Regions from separate parts of the Homo sapiens genome. Here all the other regions are linked to region 1. The links are contacts of gene promoters, found by promoter capture Hi-C in blood cells and fetal thymus (Javierre and others, 2016). All regions are on one chromosome and are shown on one strand. The core of a region is centred on a gene start or on the middle of the fragment in contact, and the rest is flanking DNA. Distances in the headings are between cores, read along the strand shown.

Region 1 (5,095 bases), core at 2,596-5,095:
CAGGAATATCAGCCCCCAACCTGGCCCACTGCTTGGGCGGCTCTGGTCCCCCCAATCTGGCCGCCTGTCAAGGATCTGAGGCTTGGCAGGGCTGATGGCGCCGGGACAGCGTGGGACGGCCCAGGCTCTCTGCAGCCCTGGTTCTCCGGGCAGAGTGGAATAGAGACACTCGCAGCTCCTGGTCCTTGCCTTCCCACTCCTCCGAACCCGGCCAGGACTGCACCCTGCGCTGCCCCAGATCCGTGCCTCCAGCTGGAATGGTAAACTGGGAGGGGGCAGTGTGGCTCTGGCTCTGGTCAGAAGCACAAAACAATCCAGACAGCCCGGAGCGGGATGGACAGGGCTGGGTGGGGTGGGGGAGGGCAGCTCATAGAGCCGTGCTCGAGGGAGGCGGGTAGCGCAGAGGAGAGGGTGCAAGGCCCTAAGAAGAGGAGCGGGGGGACTAGGGCGGGGCTCAATGGAGCTGGGGCGTCCGCAGACTGGAAGGAGCCGGGACCCCCGCTCCAGAGCCTCCCTTTCCATTCTCGCTTCTTCCAGTGATTCCGAGCCCCCGACTCAGTCTTTCCCCCAGGTAGAGAGAATCCGAGGCTGTTTCTGCCGCTGAAATCTGAGCGGGAGAGCATCCCGAAGCCGCCTGCGTGGAGCGAGCAGCCCCCGCGTCATGGGCCAGAGGCGCCCGGGAGAATCTGCGGGTCACGGATCACACCCGCAGGGGCCTGGCGGAGCAAGGTGCCGTTCGCCGCCTGCGGGCAGGAGCCGGCTCTGGGCCTCGGCCCCTGCTGTGCCGTCCAGTCGGCCGCTTCTTCGCTTCTTCGGCAAGGGAAGCGGTGGAGAGGCGCGGGAGCCCCGATTGTGCTGGAGAGATCTGGGACCCCTGCGCGTCTGCGTGCGAAGGACCCGAGACCGGCCAACTCAGCTGGGAGCACGGGACACGAGGAGTGAGGACAAAGGGCAAGGAACGGGGCCTATAGGGAGGGTGTGTGTGTGTGTGTGTGTGTGTGTGTGTGTGTGTGTGTGTGTGTGTGTGTGTGTGTGTGTAGGGGGAATGAATGGACAGCGGGGAAGGCATGCAGAGGGGCCCAAGGGGTGTGGACTCAGCAGCCCCACCCCAGACCAGAGAAGGCAGCCAGGCTCTGGCGTCCACCGAGCCAGCGCCCCTATCTGGGCGCGGGCCGCATGGCGGCAGACCACCCTATATCCGCCTTGGTGGCGTGGGATATGACTGGCAGGAGCGCGGAAGAGGCGCTGAGAATGCATGCGCACCCGGACAGACCAGACGCGGCACGGAGGGGGTACTTCCCACAAGTCCTCCTGCCTTGAGACCAGGCCTTCGAGTGGTCCGGGGAATGCGCCTCTGGGCACAGCCAGCGGCCCCAGATCGGCACTGGACGCCAACCCGAGTTAGAGAAGCCTGGGAGACTGGATCGCAGGGGCCCTCATTCAGCCAAGGAGGGGGAAAGGAGAGCTGTAGGGTAGGAGAGGCCAGGCACAGGGAAGGTGGGGAGGGGATGGAGCCTTGCGCCAGGAGTTGGGGGTGCAGGGCCTGTGACGAGAGAGTATTACCATGTGCACCCTGAAGGAGAGGGAGAGGGTCTGGGCCTGGAACGAGGACTCTCGCCTGCAGGCAGTCGCCCAGCCCCGGTTGCAGGGATGGACCGCGACCAGCAGAGGGCAGAAAGTGCCTGGTCCGCCCGCCGGCCCCGAGCCGCGCTCCGCGCCTCGGGACTCTGGCTCTGTGCGCCGAAGCCTTGCCCGCCCGGCTTCTCCCTGCAGCAGCCGCGCCCCCGCCCCAGATGCCCGGAGAAGGCGGCTCAGGCCCAGCCCAACTTCGCGGGTCCAGGCCTGGGGTTTCCAGGTCAAGCAAAGAGGGGACCGAGATGTGGGAGAGAAACTCCACATTGACTGTCCACTCTCCCCGACCTAGCCACACAAAGGCGCCTAGAAATACACGAAGGCACAAAGCCCCCCACCACACACAAACACACACACACACACACACGCTAGGAGACACGCGAGCACACAGAAGCATTCAGAACCCCGGAGATAAGCACAGATACGCAAAGCTGACAGAGACACCCATACAGAAAAGGATCGCAGACACAACACAGAGGCTGAGACACGCACAAAGACTTAGGCCCCCGCATGAAATGATGCGGACACACACCCCAGACACAGGCACGAAGGACCCACACATTCACATACACACGGGTGCAGGGGACTCAGACACAGATCCACAGATTCACCCCTGGGAGTCTGGAAGGTTGCAGGGACACACATACCGTGTGTGCAGAGCCAAGGAGCACACGGAGGCAAGAGCCGCAGAGGCGGGGGCCCGACACGCACAGACACACACAGATACCCACCGACACACACGCAGGTAGGGTAGGGCGGGAGCCTCTAATCCTCCACAAAGCCGGGCCCCTCCGCGGGGCCCCGCGGCGCAGGGGGCCACTTCTGACCAAGCCTCCCGCAGGTTCCAAATCCGATCCGCCCTTTCGCCTCCAGCGAGGTCAGGGGACCCGCCCCCCATGCCCTCCGCCCCCGCCCGGCTCCGCGCCGCTGCCTCGCTCCGGGAGGGGCCGGGGCCGCCCCGCAGCGGATCGCGGGGGGTCAGCCCGCCGCTACCCCGGGCCGCAACCGCCCCCCTGCTCCCCGGTGAGCCGCGCGTCGGTGGGGACCACGGGCCGCAGACAGCCGGTCCGACGCTGTGGCCTCTCGCACCGGACGCGGGTGCCAGGCCCGGCTGGCGCGGAAGTCGGCAGCTCCATCTCGCCAGCTTTCGCGTCCCGTTGCCGAGGTCCACTTTGCCCAGGCTGGCTAGAGCACTGTCCTTGATCCGCGCGTCCCAGCGACCCCTGGCCGGGCACCCGACCCGCCAAAGGACCCCGATCTTGGCAGCCAACCTAATTTCTTCAGAGCCGCTACCCTGGGGCCACCACTCCCTCCTAGCGCCCCTCACTGCAAACCCTAGGAGGCCCGGGTCTTGCCCACTGCTCCTGCCCCTGCCCGGGGACCCCTTTTCCAGCCTTAGTTGTCCTCTAAACTCTCGGTCGCCTGAACCCAGGCCTGACCTTCCTTGTCGTCCCAGTGTCCCCCATTCTCGATCCCGGGGCCCCAACCTCCCATCGGCTCAGTCCCCCGCCCAATCTCTGCCAGGCCCGGAGCTTTCCCAGACCCCTCACCCACACTCCAGGCTCACTCCCCGTTCCTGGGCCTGGGCCCCCCTTGCACGAGTCCAGGGCCAGCCGTCCTCGCCTTCTGCCCGCCCCCGTCCTTCGTTCCTGGGAGCCGGCCCTCTCCGCGGACCAAGCGGCCCCGAGCAGGCGCCGCCGCCCGGGGGACTCCGACTCAGCCCCCGCGACCTACCTCGGCCGACAGTCGGGGGTTCCCAAGCGGCCACTCCCGGCCGGCGCCGTCCCCTGGCGGAGCCGCCGCGCTCCCTGCCGTCCGCGCAGTCTGGCCTCGCTCGGGGCCACTCCTCGTAGCGCTGGAGCTTTACAAAATATTAATAATAAAGAAGGCAGAGGAGAAAAAAGAAAGCCTTCGCTCCCCAACTCCCAAATCAATTTTTCAAGGGGGTGGAGCAGAGGGATTTGTTTCGAAGACGATCAAAACTTCTGCGAGGGGCCCGCGGGGCGGCCGGGCCGGGGAGCCGGGGCCTGAGCTCGGGGCCAGGCGCGGCGCGGGGCGCGGGCCAGGGGCGCGGAGCCCCGGGGCGCGCGGGGGGGCGGGACGGCACTATTTGACGTGGAGCCGGCGGCGCATCCCGGCGCAGGGATACCGGCCGCGGGGTTCAAATGTCAGGAAGTTTCGGGAGGTGAGGCGGCCCGTATCCCTCCGCCGCCAGCCCCAGCTCTAAACCCGGCGGCTCAGCGGGCGCACCATGGCACTGGAGTAGCGCGGGGAGCGCGCCCGGAGCCCCGCGGCCCGCTGCGCCCCGCCCGGGACCCCGCTGCGCCGCGCGCCCCCCCCGCGGCCCGCGGGGCCGCCCCTGCACCCCCACCCCCTCCCCCGCCTGCCGCCGCCGCCACCGCCACCGCCGCCGCCGCCTCCTCCCCGCGGCTCCGTCTGCAGCAGCCGCCGCCGCCGGGTTCCGGGACTGACAAGCAGGTGACAGAGGAGCCGGCGCGCGTGGCTGCAAGTGTCCGGGAGAGCGCGGCGCGGGCTGCAGCCGCCCCGGCCCGCCCGCACGACGCCGGGGCCCGGGGCCAGCGCGTCGCCGCTCCACGATCGCCGGGGGCCGGCGCAACCCCTGCCCTGCGGGGGCCGCGCCTCCCCGGTTCCAGGGCCGCGGCGGCGGAGAGCGGGTGGACGGGCCGGCGGGCGAGCAGCCCGGCCGGCGGGGTCCGCAGCGCGCCCCGCGTCCCATGGATATAGCAACAGGTCCCGAGTCGCTGGAGAGGTGCTTCCCTCGCGGGCAGACGGACTGCGCCAAGATGTTGGACGGCATCAAGATGGAGGAGCACGCCCTGCGCCCCGGGCCCGCCACTCTGGGGGTGCTGCTGGGTGAGTGCGGGGTCGGAACGCCCGAGTGGTCTCGGGCGTGGGATGGGGCGTCGTCCGGCTGTGGACACGGGCGTTGGGGCCAACGGATAAAGGAAATGGGTTTGCAGGACATGGGGAGGAGGCAGAGACAGGACTCCTGGAGTGATCGCCAGAGGGCCGCAAGTACGCCTCCGGCAGGCGTCCTGAGGGGACAGGACAGCTCCAGTCGCCACCCACCATCCTTTCCAGGCTTAGGTTCTAGAGCTGCCACTCCGATGTGGTAGGTGGCGGGTGGCAGGGGTGATGGAGGACCTAGCAATCACCTTGGCGAGCTTGGGAGAGGCGCAAGGTCACCTGGGGTGGGGGAGATTCTAAGAGAAAAACGTCTCCCTGGTCACTCAAACCACAGATTTTGGGGAGATCGGGGATAGAAGACCACGAACGCCACCGTGGGGCGTGTCAGCCAGCGAGCGCCCCAGCCTCACCTCGCCTGTCTTGGTCCCAGCCGGCCACCCTGCGCCGTGCTCGTTGTCATTTGTCTTAACACGGAGCGCGGATTCTCCGGAGAAGGGGAGAGCACAGCGCCGAGCCAAGGCTCGAGGCCCGCGGC
Region 2 (5,095 bases), core at 1,268-3,767, 2.6 Mb before region 1:
TCCCTCCTCCAATTTAGAAGGATTTTCTTCCTCTTTCTCACTCCCCAGTTTAAAAGGAAATTCTCTCTCCCCACAATTTGGAACCACCTTCTGTGGCTCACTTTCCCATTTCCAAGGCTAGACCCATTCCTATGCTGCCCTTCACCCCCATAATCCTGGCTGTGCAGATCAATTTGTCTTCAGCTGGAGGGATCTACCTTGTGTTTTTCTAGTGCAGGGGCCAGCTGTGGGGACTCCTCACCCAAAGCAGGGCACCAGCAATCCGTAGTAGCCCGCAGGAAAGGGGCAGCTGCCCAGCCGCAGCCCAGGTGCAAGGGGCATTTGTTTCCACGGGGCAAGCAAGGAAGACTTTACCCTGAAACAAAGAATTGAGACCAACCGAGACTGTCCCAGCCTCTTCGACGGCAGAGGAATCCCAGCTTCTGGACTGAGGGGCTACATCTATCCCCCTCCCCCACCTCTTTAACTTTAAAATAGTTTAATGAACACAGAGAGAGAAATCATTTTTTTTTTTCTGCGTGGTGAGCAGTCTACAAAGAGAAATGGGAAAGGAGGGAGAGAGCTTTAACTCTGATCCCCGCAATTAGTTCCCTGGGATTGTTGGTGTGTGTGTGGGGGGGGCAACCCGGGAGCCTCAGTTCTTCAGATACAAAAGCATTTAGATCGCTTTAGACCGGTTAATCCTGAGTCTGGCTCGGGTCTCTTTTGTTTCCCAACTCCATTGTGGGTTTTGTGCAGTTTCTCTCTGTTCGCGTGATTGACTAGCCAATAGATGGTAATTATCCAAATGTCCCCTCTGTCCTTTGACTGACTTCTCTGTATTATGGGCAACTGTCATGCATTCTGTCATTCCATATCATATTACACATATTATCATATGAAGTCTCCCCCCACCCTTTAAAGGAGGGAGCCTCAGCCCAGATGCTGCTGCTTTTAAAAGGAAGGGCCCCGAATAATTTGTGCGGGGCACGGTCGGGAATACAGAGCAGGGGACTCCCGAGATGGGAGGTTCTGCAGGTAATTTGTTTTGCTGGCTGGGGGTAGGGGGGGTAGGGGTGGTCTCTGAGGTTGGAGTTATAAGAACTGTGCTGGGGGCTTGGAGCACGCTTGTGCCAGCTTGTATTCCTCTGCCCAGGATCTTGGAGTAGTTTGGATGGATCTGGGATACCTTCTGGAGAAACTTGGAATCCATTTTTTGACCCCAGAATATCAGAAAAATCTGCAGGATCGGGTCCTTTGGGAGTAATTAGTTCTTAGCGACACATGCTCAAGACAACAACCCTTGGGATCCCAAAATATATCTCTTCTACCTGTGGCCCCTCACAGGATCAGTCCTTTGGACTCTTGCCCCGGTTTGCTGCCAAGCAGGCTGGGGATGGAGGAGCCAGCTGTGTCTGTTTCAAACCCCCACAAGCTGATGCTGAAGCTCTGAGAAGGGACAAGCTTTTCCAGTGATGCTTTTGCACAGATAAACTTAGTGCCCCTTGGTGCAATTGTGCTTGCCATCACTTAAGAGGGAGGCAGGATTTATAACAAGGAGACTTTGCAGGCAGAGACTCTGGGGTCCTCTGAATCTGTGGGCAGGACTAGCCTTTCTTTTGCTAAAATGTGAAAAAAGTGTTTTATTATTGCAATGGATATGAAGTGCCGCCCAGATGTACAGCCTCGCAGGCAGTTAATTACCTTGTTCTTCATCAAATATATGAGCAATAAATTCTCCAGGAAGGGAAATGTGTGTGTGTGTGTGTGTGTGTAGATAAATAGGTGGATAGATAGATAAATGCAGGAGAGAGAAAAACACACTCTTTTAAGACCACAGAAAGAGGCAGACTATTTTATGGGAAGCTTGATACACTGCTGCAAGATGCTTTGAATTTTTCAATGATCAAATATACATGATCAAGCTGTGCATGTTAGGGTGCGAGGTGCACCGACGGTCAATGGCTATTGATCAGGCTGTTAAGTATTTCTGTTCAGTTTTATAAATATAGATGGATCCCAGATGATTTAAACAACTAGATAGTTAAGAAACTAGCCTTCTACATTTCTTTGGAGAAGGGGAAATGGCTGGTCAGTTGCATAAACCCAAACCATTGTTCACCCCCATACTTCCTCCCTGCCCCCAAAATACCTTGGAAAATGTGAGGCTCATTTTCAAGAGTGTTCAAAAATAGAGTAAAAATATTCCAGATGTTTTGTTTGGGGTCTGCCAATAATAGTCACCTTACCTGAGCCTGGCCTTATTCACAGGCTGGGAGTTTTCTTCTCTCTCTTTCTCTCTCTCTCTCTCTCTCACACACACACACACACAATTTTGCAACCACAATTTTGATCCAGACTGCCAGAGAGATGGGGAGGGTGCCATTTCTAGGAGTGGGTCTAAGGTCCCTAAAACCCTTCTGGTTAGGAACCTGGTAAGCCAACCACATGACCCTTCCCAATGAACTAATTTCTCACTAGTCTAAAGATCTATTTAGAAAGGTGTGGAGGGGGTGAAGGATGGAGATTTAAAGGTAACCTCTAATTGGTCTGGAAAAATTAAGCTGATGACACCTTGAAAATCTCTCTGTTTCTTTTTCATTCTCTGTCTCTCCACCATCAAGAGATGACATCTTGAAAATCTCTGTTTCTTTTTCATTCTCTCTCTCTTTTCTATTTTTCTCTGATATTACCTTCTAGAAATTAAAAGTGGACTTGAAAGAAAAGGGCAATGAAAAACAGTGGGGGGAGGAGAGAAAGCGAACTTTTTATTTTTTTTTTTGTGGTGCGTAGCAATCTTAATTATAACCACCCAATTAGCTATTTTGTATTTTGTAAAAGGATTCAATAAATCAGCCTTCTCCCAGATCGGTAAAACTTAAGCATACAGACAATTGATAGTTATGTTTTGTTTCCACATCTTAAAAAAACAAAGTGAAGATTTTTGATTTTTCTATCTGCAGACCAGTCTTTACCAGCTAAGTGCCCCTCACCAGAGGAGCTGAGGCATCCCTATTGATAAAACCCCCTGGAAATTGAACCAAAATTGGCATCCCTCAAAAAAGTTGATCCACCTAGAAACGGATGAATCAGTCCTGATTGGGTGGACATGCCCTTTCACCTCATTGTGTCTGACCTATCACTTAATTAATCTCTCCCAGAGCAGAGCTGTTGACAATACCAAAGATAAGCAGTATTTTGAACAAAGCAGGAAGCTTTTAAAAGAACAAGCCACAGTGAGGTTTGAGGCTCTTAAAAATGTGTAAATCATCAGCATTAGGATGTAAGGTACCTTTATAACGTAGCTGAAGCTCAGAGATGATCCCACCTTTGCCAGAAACTTTCTGTGCCTTTCTTTAGCCATGGATGTCTTTAGACATTCATATTCTGCCTCTCCCCTCTGCTGCTGGTTCCCTTTCTCCTGTCTTTCCCTTTCTCTGGATTCATACTCTCCATGGCTACTTTCCTGAAAATTGTTCTCTGCTTTCCAGCCTTGCCTTTGGCTCTTCACATCCTTTTTTTAGTGTTAGGGCTGTCGAGGTAGTCAGCTTCTAAGGCTTTGGGGGACAAACTATCGACTGCATCTGCTGGTACCTATGAAGGAGGACATTTGTGCTGCAGGCACCTTGGTGACATACAGGGAATAGTTCATTAATTAAAAGACTTGCTAATTGCTGCTTGAATTACTGTACAGAAGGAATGAAATGAGTTTGTAAAAGATGACGATTTGGAGAATGCATTTTTTTTTGTTTAAAATATTTTTATAAACAGCTCCTAGAAAATGTGTTGCTTTTGCTGTTGACTCTATCGTCAACAATTCAACTGAGCTTCAATTAATGATAATATATGGTCTGGGATCCTTCGCTGGGCCCGACTGATGGAAGAGCTTTGTTGAATTTGGTGCAGGTGGCACTGTTTAATAAGCACAGGAAAGAGTGAATAATGTAGTGCTTGCAAAGAGAAGTAAATGCAAAATAGATCGCTCTAATTATGGCAGCCCCCAGAAATGGAGATGCAAGCTGAAATGGCCAAGTAGCTGGGAAATTCTAAATAGTGTCGATTGTCCCCTGCCTTTTTACTTTCGAGGGCTGACATGGTAGCTTAAAAGTAAATTTGGGTGAGCTCATCTCACTCAACACAAACAGAAATTCAAAACCTGAGTCTGATGACCTATCAATGTTTGCCTTCACTGTCTAGAATCCATTACCAGATAGTAAAACTCAGCACTAAAACAGGGCCATCTGAACATTTCTTCCTGCAAGAGATCGGCACAAGCTCTTTACAACTAGCATTTGTATTTTATTGCAAAGTGCCAGGAGATTTTGTTTTTGTTTTTGTTTTGTTTTGTTTGAATTTCTTTATGCTTGAGAAAATTAGCCTATAGGAAATCAAAGTGTGAATACTTAAGCAAACAGAATTTCTCATATACCTGCAAGGGCTTGTAGTGATTTTCATTCATGCAAAGATAATCAATGGGACATTAGTTGTTTTAATTAATGGAAGAATAAAAATGTTGGGGAGGGGTGCCAAGGGACTGGGCTTCAGCTGAAGCATGTGTGGGAAATGACTCATTCCTCACCTAAAGAGACAATGCCAACTTCCCAAAAGCAGGAGAGATTTGCTAATCAAACCAGTGGAAAGTTGGACTTGGGTGTGGGAGGGGTCCTGTTGAAAGTGTAGGGGGAGATATGGTGGTCACACTGGGCATTTTTCCTCCCCTGCAACCTCAGTGTTCCCCTTGGAAAACTAACACATCCTACATCATCTTCTAGGAGAGGAATTGTCTTACTTCCTAGGAAGTTGCACTTTGTGCTGGGAGCCTAGCATGCTTTGTGATGGTAAAATAGTGCCAGTGGCTGGGAAGCTCAAATCAACATTCTTTAGCCTGGACTAAAGAGAGGCTGGGGCTGAATGGGTGTGCTAGACATGGGGTGATCTGTAAAGCGTGGCTCCAGCAAGTGGGTAGAGACCCTCGTCCTCTGATTGAGAACCCAAGGAGGAGCCAAGTCCAGCATCTTTAGCTAAAAACTCCTTTTTTGTTATGTAGAAATGTTTACCAAACCCAACTCCAGTCAGTGCTGGCTGGGCACTCCAGTCGATTGGTGTTAGCGTATGG
Region 3 (5,095 bases), core at 1,568-4,067, 2.6 Mb before region 1:
ACAAAAACAAACCCAAGACTGTGCAGAGGGTGCTACGGCGGGAAGAAGTCAGTTATTTTCATCTTAAAGAATCTGAGTTGAATAGAGAGGGAAATGAGGGGCGGGTGTTCGCTCCAACGAAATCGCTTGGAGGATCATGGGGCGTGTGTCCCTGTGTGCGGAACTGGGAGGAAAACGCAGCCCCCAGTTTGGTAAATGGTGAAGCAGCGGTAGGCCGGTCGGTGGCGCGGATTTAAGATTTGCTGAAGGCACTACCACAGATGTAGCTCTCTGGAACTTCCATCCCTCCTCTCCTACCACCCCCCAAAAAAAGACAAAACCGAGTTCAGACCGGCTCCCCCAACACCAAGCCGCTTCTATTTATCAAGTGGGTCAACTTCCACTCGGAAGCACCTCGCGGGGCTCGGCTCCAGGGCACCTGGTGGCTGGGGAGCTGTATTGTTTTCCTGGGCACGGAGGTTCGGCGCCGGTTTTAGGATTGTGCAAAAAGAGAGTAGAAGGTACAGAGATTTATTTCTGCTTTTTGCTGTTCAGCCGCCGTTTGCCCCAGCGAGGTGGGCTGGAGGCTGAATTTCAAGCCTTGTTTAACCTCTACAAGAGACACCCTCCATTCAGCCATCTCACTTTCTCTCTGGCCTCCCTCTCTCTTTTTTTCCTTTCCGTTCTCTCCGTCCTTTCTCTCTATCTCTGTCTCTGTGTGTGTCGTGTTTGTTCCCGTGCCCTCCTCTCCGACCTTGGCCGGGGCTCCTAGTCCTGAGAGAAACGGCGTTCGGTGCGCCGGCGGTGGCTATGCGGCTGGCTCTTTCGGGGCTCCCGGGACTAGGTTGGGGAAAGAGGGCATCTCCCCGGCCTCTCGGGGCCCAGCCCAGTCTTCCTAGATCTGGCGTCCGCCCTTCCCTCCCCTCCCGCACTGGCAGGAGAGAAATGGCCGCAGTGTGGGCCGCGGGGCAGCTAGGACTGGAAAGCGGGGACCCTGGAGGGTGCGATCGCGGACGGGGTGTGCGGGCGCGGGTCGTGTGCGTGTGCGTGCAGGGTTCCGACCACGGGGACACGAGCTTGTTTGTGGCAGTGTCCCACATCCTGTGGCCCAGCCACGACGACCCCTTGCAAAGCCTCTTGCTCTGGGGACAGTCCCTCCGAGGCGCGGCGGCACCTTACTGAAGGGCGGCGAGCTGGGGGCCGAGTGGGGAGGGGGCGCCGTCGGGGCGCCGGGCGCTGGGCTTACAGCAGAGCCGCGGGCCGCGGGGTCGGAAAGTCCTTCCGGGGCGGGGCCGCAGCGGCCTCTTCCCGCAGCCCCTCGGGCCCGGGCCCCGGTGGAACGGAAACCTCCCCCTACCCCGGGAGGGGCTGCCAGCGGGCTGGGGGTGCGAAAACGGCGGCAGGAGCGGGCGAGGGGCCCGGGCCGCGCACTTTGCGCCTGGGTTTGCGCGCCGCGGCCGCGGGAGTCCCGCGCGGACCGGCCGGACGCCCGGCCTCCCCCAGCCCCAGCTTTTTGTGTGTGTGTGCCTGGCGGCGTAATTACTGATTTGATTCCAATCCATTATTTAGACAATTGAACCTACAATCTCGTCTTTAGTAAAATGAGGCGAAGTCAGATTTGATTACAGGTTCAGTCCCAGCGACAAGAGCTCGAAACCCGATGGGTTAATAACAGATCACGAGTAAATTATTCATGATTTTACGAGCTCTTTAGCTCCATTGAATCGGCCTAATTGAGAGGAAAAAAAAAAAAAAGGAGAGAGAAAGCCCGGGTCCTCCCCCTCCCCTCGGCCCCTCGCTCCTCCCCGGATCCGATCCTGGGGAATCTCGACCCGCCCCCGGGCACTGGGGGCGGGAGTGAGGGGGTTCGGGGCGCCGGCCAAACCTGGGCCCCACGGCTGCCTCCCCCGCCGCCGCCCCCTGCCCTTGCCTCTGGCCGGCCTCGGCCTCGCTACTTAGGGCCGGCTCCTTTCCCTTTTTCTCCACTCCCCTTCTTTCCCCTTTTCTCTACTCCCCCGCCAATAACGGCTTCGGAAAAGGCCTCCCCCGCAGGGACCGGGTCTCCCGGAGCCCCGGGATTCAGCTCGGCCACCGGACCCTCGCCACAAGCTGCGCCTGTTTCCGGGACTCGCTTTCCCCTCCGCTCTCCCTATTTCTTGCTGTCTTTGTAGCTGTCTCTCTGTGGTTCTCCTGGCTCCTTCGCTTTCTTTTCCTCTGTCTGTCCTCTCTTTTTCCTGGCTCTGTCCATCTTCCGTCCCTACCCCCTCTCTCTTTCTCTCCCTCCATTCTGCCTTTCTGTGTTTGTCTTTTTCTCTCCTTTCTCTGCCCTTTCTGTCCCCCTCCCCCGCACTACTACCCCACCTAGGCGGCACTCAGGGCAGGTCCCTTGGGCCCATGGGGGCGCCGGGGTCCCCACGGAGCTCATTAACAGCAGCCAGGCCCAGGCGGGGGCTCGGTGGAGGGATGGGCCCAAAGATACCCCGTAGGGAGGCTGCCCCACCCCCAGTGGAGCTGGGGACTGGGGGAAAGAAAAGGGTTGCTCACCTCAGCGGGTTCCAAGCAGTTCTGGTGGATCAGGTTCAGAGGCATCCTCTGATCCCCTTTAAATTGCCGGACCCGCGCTCTTCACTCTGGGCGTGCTCTCTGTGGGAATGCAGCCCCGGGGGTGAGGGGACCTGAGTGCCGGTGGAAAGAGGCCCCTAGGAGGTGTAGCCCCTAGCTAACAGCTCCAAAGGCAGGGGCAAGACTTGTATCTTGCAAATTCTCTCTGCAAGGGGCTCTTCCCCATCTGGGCAGGGGAAGGGGGAGGTCACCAGCAGAGTAAAAGTCCTTTGGAGGTAGTGTGGCCAGGCAAAATGCAGCATCCCCAGTTAAATTGGAATTTTGGGTACGTAACAAATACATTTTTAGTGTAAGTGTCCCCGGCAATATTTGCATTTTGGAAAAATAACGAATAAATTTGAAATTTGTAGTATAAGTGTCCCGTGTAATATTTGAATTTTAGATAAATGACAATTTTTTAGCATAGCTGTGTCACCTGTAGTATTTGAATTTCAGGTAAACAACAAATACATTTTTAGTATAGGTATGTCCCATGCAATATTTAGGACATGCTTATACTAAAAAATTACTTATTATTTTTCTGAAATTTATATTTAACTGGGCAACCTGTATTTTCATTTGCTAAATCTAGAGCTCTGTTACGGGTATGTGATGAGGGCACAAGATACCTTCTCAGTTCTCACTTTAGGCGGACCGAATGTACACCCCTTATGAGGCTTACCCCAAGGCAAGACCTTAAGTGTGGCATGGCTCGGGAGGTGCCATGAGGAGGCGACCTTGGGAGGGGTCCTGCAGGTCCCCATCAGCTTCCAGGTGGCTGAGCAATTTTCTGAGGCCCAGGTTTTCACCCATATTCCCCACCCCCAATGCCAGCCAGGCATTGGCAGCGTGGCCCCCATGAGGCTCCTTGTGGTTAGGGACAGGCTCCCTCCTCCCTTCGTGGTGTAGTGGAAGAAAACAAGGAGTACTCCAGTGCTAAATCTAGGCTCAACAGATCAAGATCAATCTAGCTGGTTACCGGTGGTGTGGCAGTGTGCAAGTGGCTTCATTTCCCTTAGCGTTAGTTTCCACATCTCTAAAATGGGAATAGTCATAGCCACCTCTCTGAGAGGTAATGATGTACAGTGACATTTGTAAAGCCAAACACACACCATAGGTGTCTACTACATGTTTATTTCTGCCTCGGACTTCCTTCCCCGTCCACTCTGCCGCTCTCTGTGGACTGCCGCAGATCTCTGAACTTCCCCGAGCCTAATTTGCTCCACTTGTTCACGGAGAAACAATCATCTTACAGGGTAGCGATGAGGATTAAACTGCAAAATGCAGTTTCCAACCTTTGGCCCAGTGCCCAAGGCCCAGGGGTCCCTCAGTACTTTTGGGTGTGGCAAAATGAACATGAATCTCTGTTTCAGCAGTTTCTAGGTGCCGGTCCCAGACACGGTAGGGGGAGACGGCAGAAAGCACTCCTCCTTAGAGTGCCTTGGAAAACAGGAGGAGGGCAGGCCCAGAGACCCTGTCCTGCTGTGTCCAAAGTCAAGTGACTTCCCTTGCTGAGCCTCAGTTTCAACATCTGTAAAAACGGGAAAAATAATACCTGGTGCTCCTAGGATTGTTTTAAGTACCTAAAGAAAATGTGCCTGGAAAGCCCTTTAACACATCACCTGGAGTTCAATCGGCCATCAACAAGTCGTAGCTGTTGTTGCTGCTGCTGCTGCTGCTGCTACTATTGTTCTTATTGTAACATAATGGCTCAGAATGATTTTTGGATTCTCCCAGAGCCGGGATTCAGTGCTGCAGTTCTTAGCAGTGTGATCCTGGGTGGATCGCTGTCTCTGAGCCTCAGTGTTTCCATCTATAAAATGGGGATGATGTCCCCCTTTCATTGTGGCGCAGACATGCAGCAGGGTTAAGGATTGAAATGTTTGGCAGTGGGTGGGGCGAGTGTGGATTTGGCATGGGGGGCGGGTCAGGAAGTTCACCCACCGGCTCTGTGTCTCCTCCCTAGCGCTAAGCTGCAACGAAAACGACGCAGAGCACCTGGACCGTGACCAGCCATACCCGAGCAGCCAGAAGACCAAGCGCATGCGCACGTCCTTCAAGCACCACCAGCTTCGGACCATGAAGTCTTACTTTGCCATTAACCACAACCCCGACGCCAAGGACTTGAAGCAGCTCGCGCAAAAGACGGGCCTCACCAAGCGGGTCCTCCAGGTCAGCCAGGGCCAGGGGTGAGGGCATCTGCGACCACCAGGGACTGGGGTGGAACCCTGCACCCCTCGCCGTGGGCCTTGGAAGGACCTTCCACCCTGTGTCTGCTTCTCTGTGTGTTTAATCTTTCTCATTCTCTTTCTTCACCTCTCCAGCCTGTCCCCATCTGTATTTCAGTCTTTTTTTTCTTACTTTGTCTTTTCTCTTTTTCAGTTTTTGCCTCTCTGTTTTTCTGTTTGCGTATCGCTCCATCCTCATTGTCTCCACACTCGGTCTCTTTTCTTTCTTCTAAACAATTCTTAGTTTCTGTTTATTATTCAAGTGACACTCATTTTACACACATTCA

What was found. Contacts are between HindIII fragments. The CHiCAGO score rates a contact against its expected background, and 5 or more counts as called.
Region 2: a fragment that was not itself captured here is called in contact with the fragment with the promoter of LMX1B in region 1 in 2 of 17 cell types (total B cells and naive B cells); the score reaches 9.8 in total B cells.
Region 3: a fragment that was not itself captured here is called in contact with the fragment with the promoter of LMX1B in region 1 in 2 of 17 cell types (total B cells and naive B cells); the score reaches 5.4 in total B cells.

The regions. Positions count from the first base shown.
Region 1 is chr9:126,610,083-126,615,177 of GRCh38, forward strand. LMX1B (LIM homeobox transcription factor 1 beta) reads left to right here and starts at 3,846. Exons shown (of 8, transcript NM_001174147.2): 1 at 3,846-4,506. The coding sequence starts at 4,368. It overlaps LMX1B-DT (LMX1B divergent transcript), which reads right to left and starts at 3,717. Exons shown (of 2, transcript NR_184148.1): 1 at 3,367-3,717. RefSeq lists enhancers at 1-830, 2,774-3,742, 3,998-4,579, 4,580-5,095 and a silencer at 1,552-1,621. The HindIII fragment of the contact is 12,076 bases long and covers 1-5,095 here.
Region 2 is chr9:124,000,681-124,005,775 of GRCh38, forward strand. No RefSeq gene overlaps it. Among named protein-coding and RNA genes, the nearest start is that of LHX2-AS1, 6.2 kb to the right of the region's middle. RefSeq lists enhancers at 276-776, 4,146-4,903. The HindIII fragment of the contact is 1,349 bases long and covers 1,844-3,192 here.
Region 3 is chr9:124,016,553-124,021,647 of GRCh38, forward strand. It overlaps LHX2 (LIM homeobox 2), which reads left to right. Exons shown (of 5, transcript NM_004789.4): 4 at 4,547-4,752. Among named protein-coding and RNA genes, the nearest start is that of LHX2, 7.3 kb to the left of the region's middle. The HindIII fragment of the contact is 9,872 bases long and covers 1-5,095 here.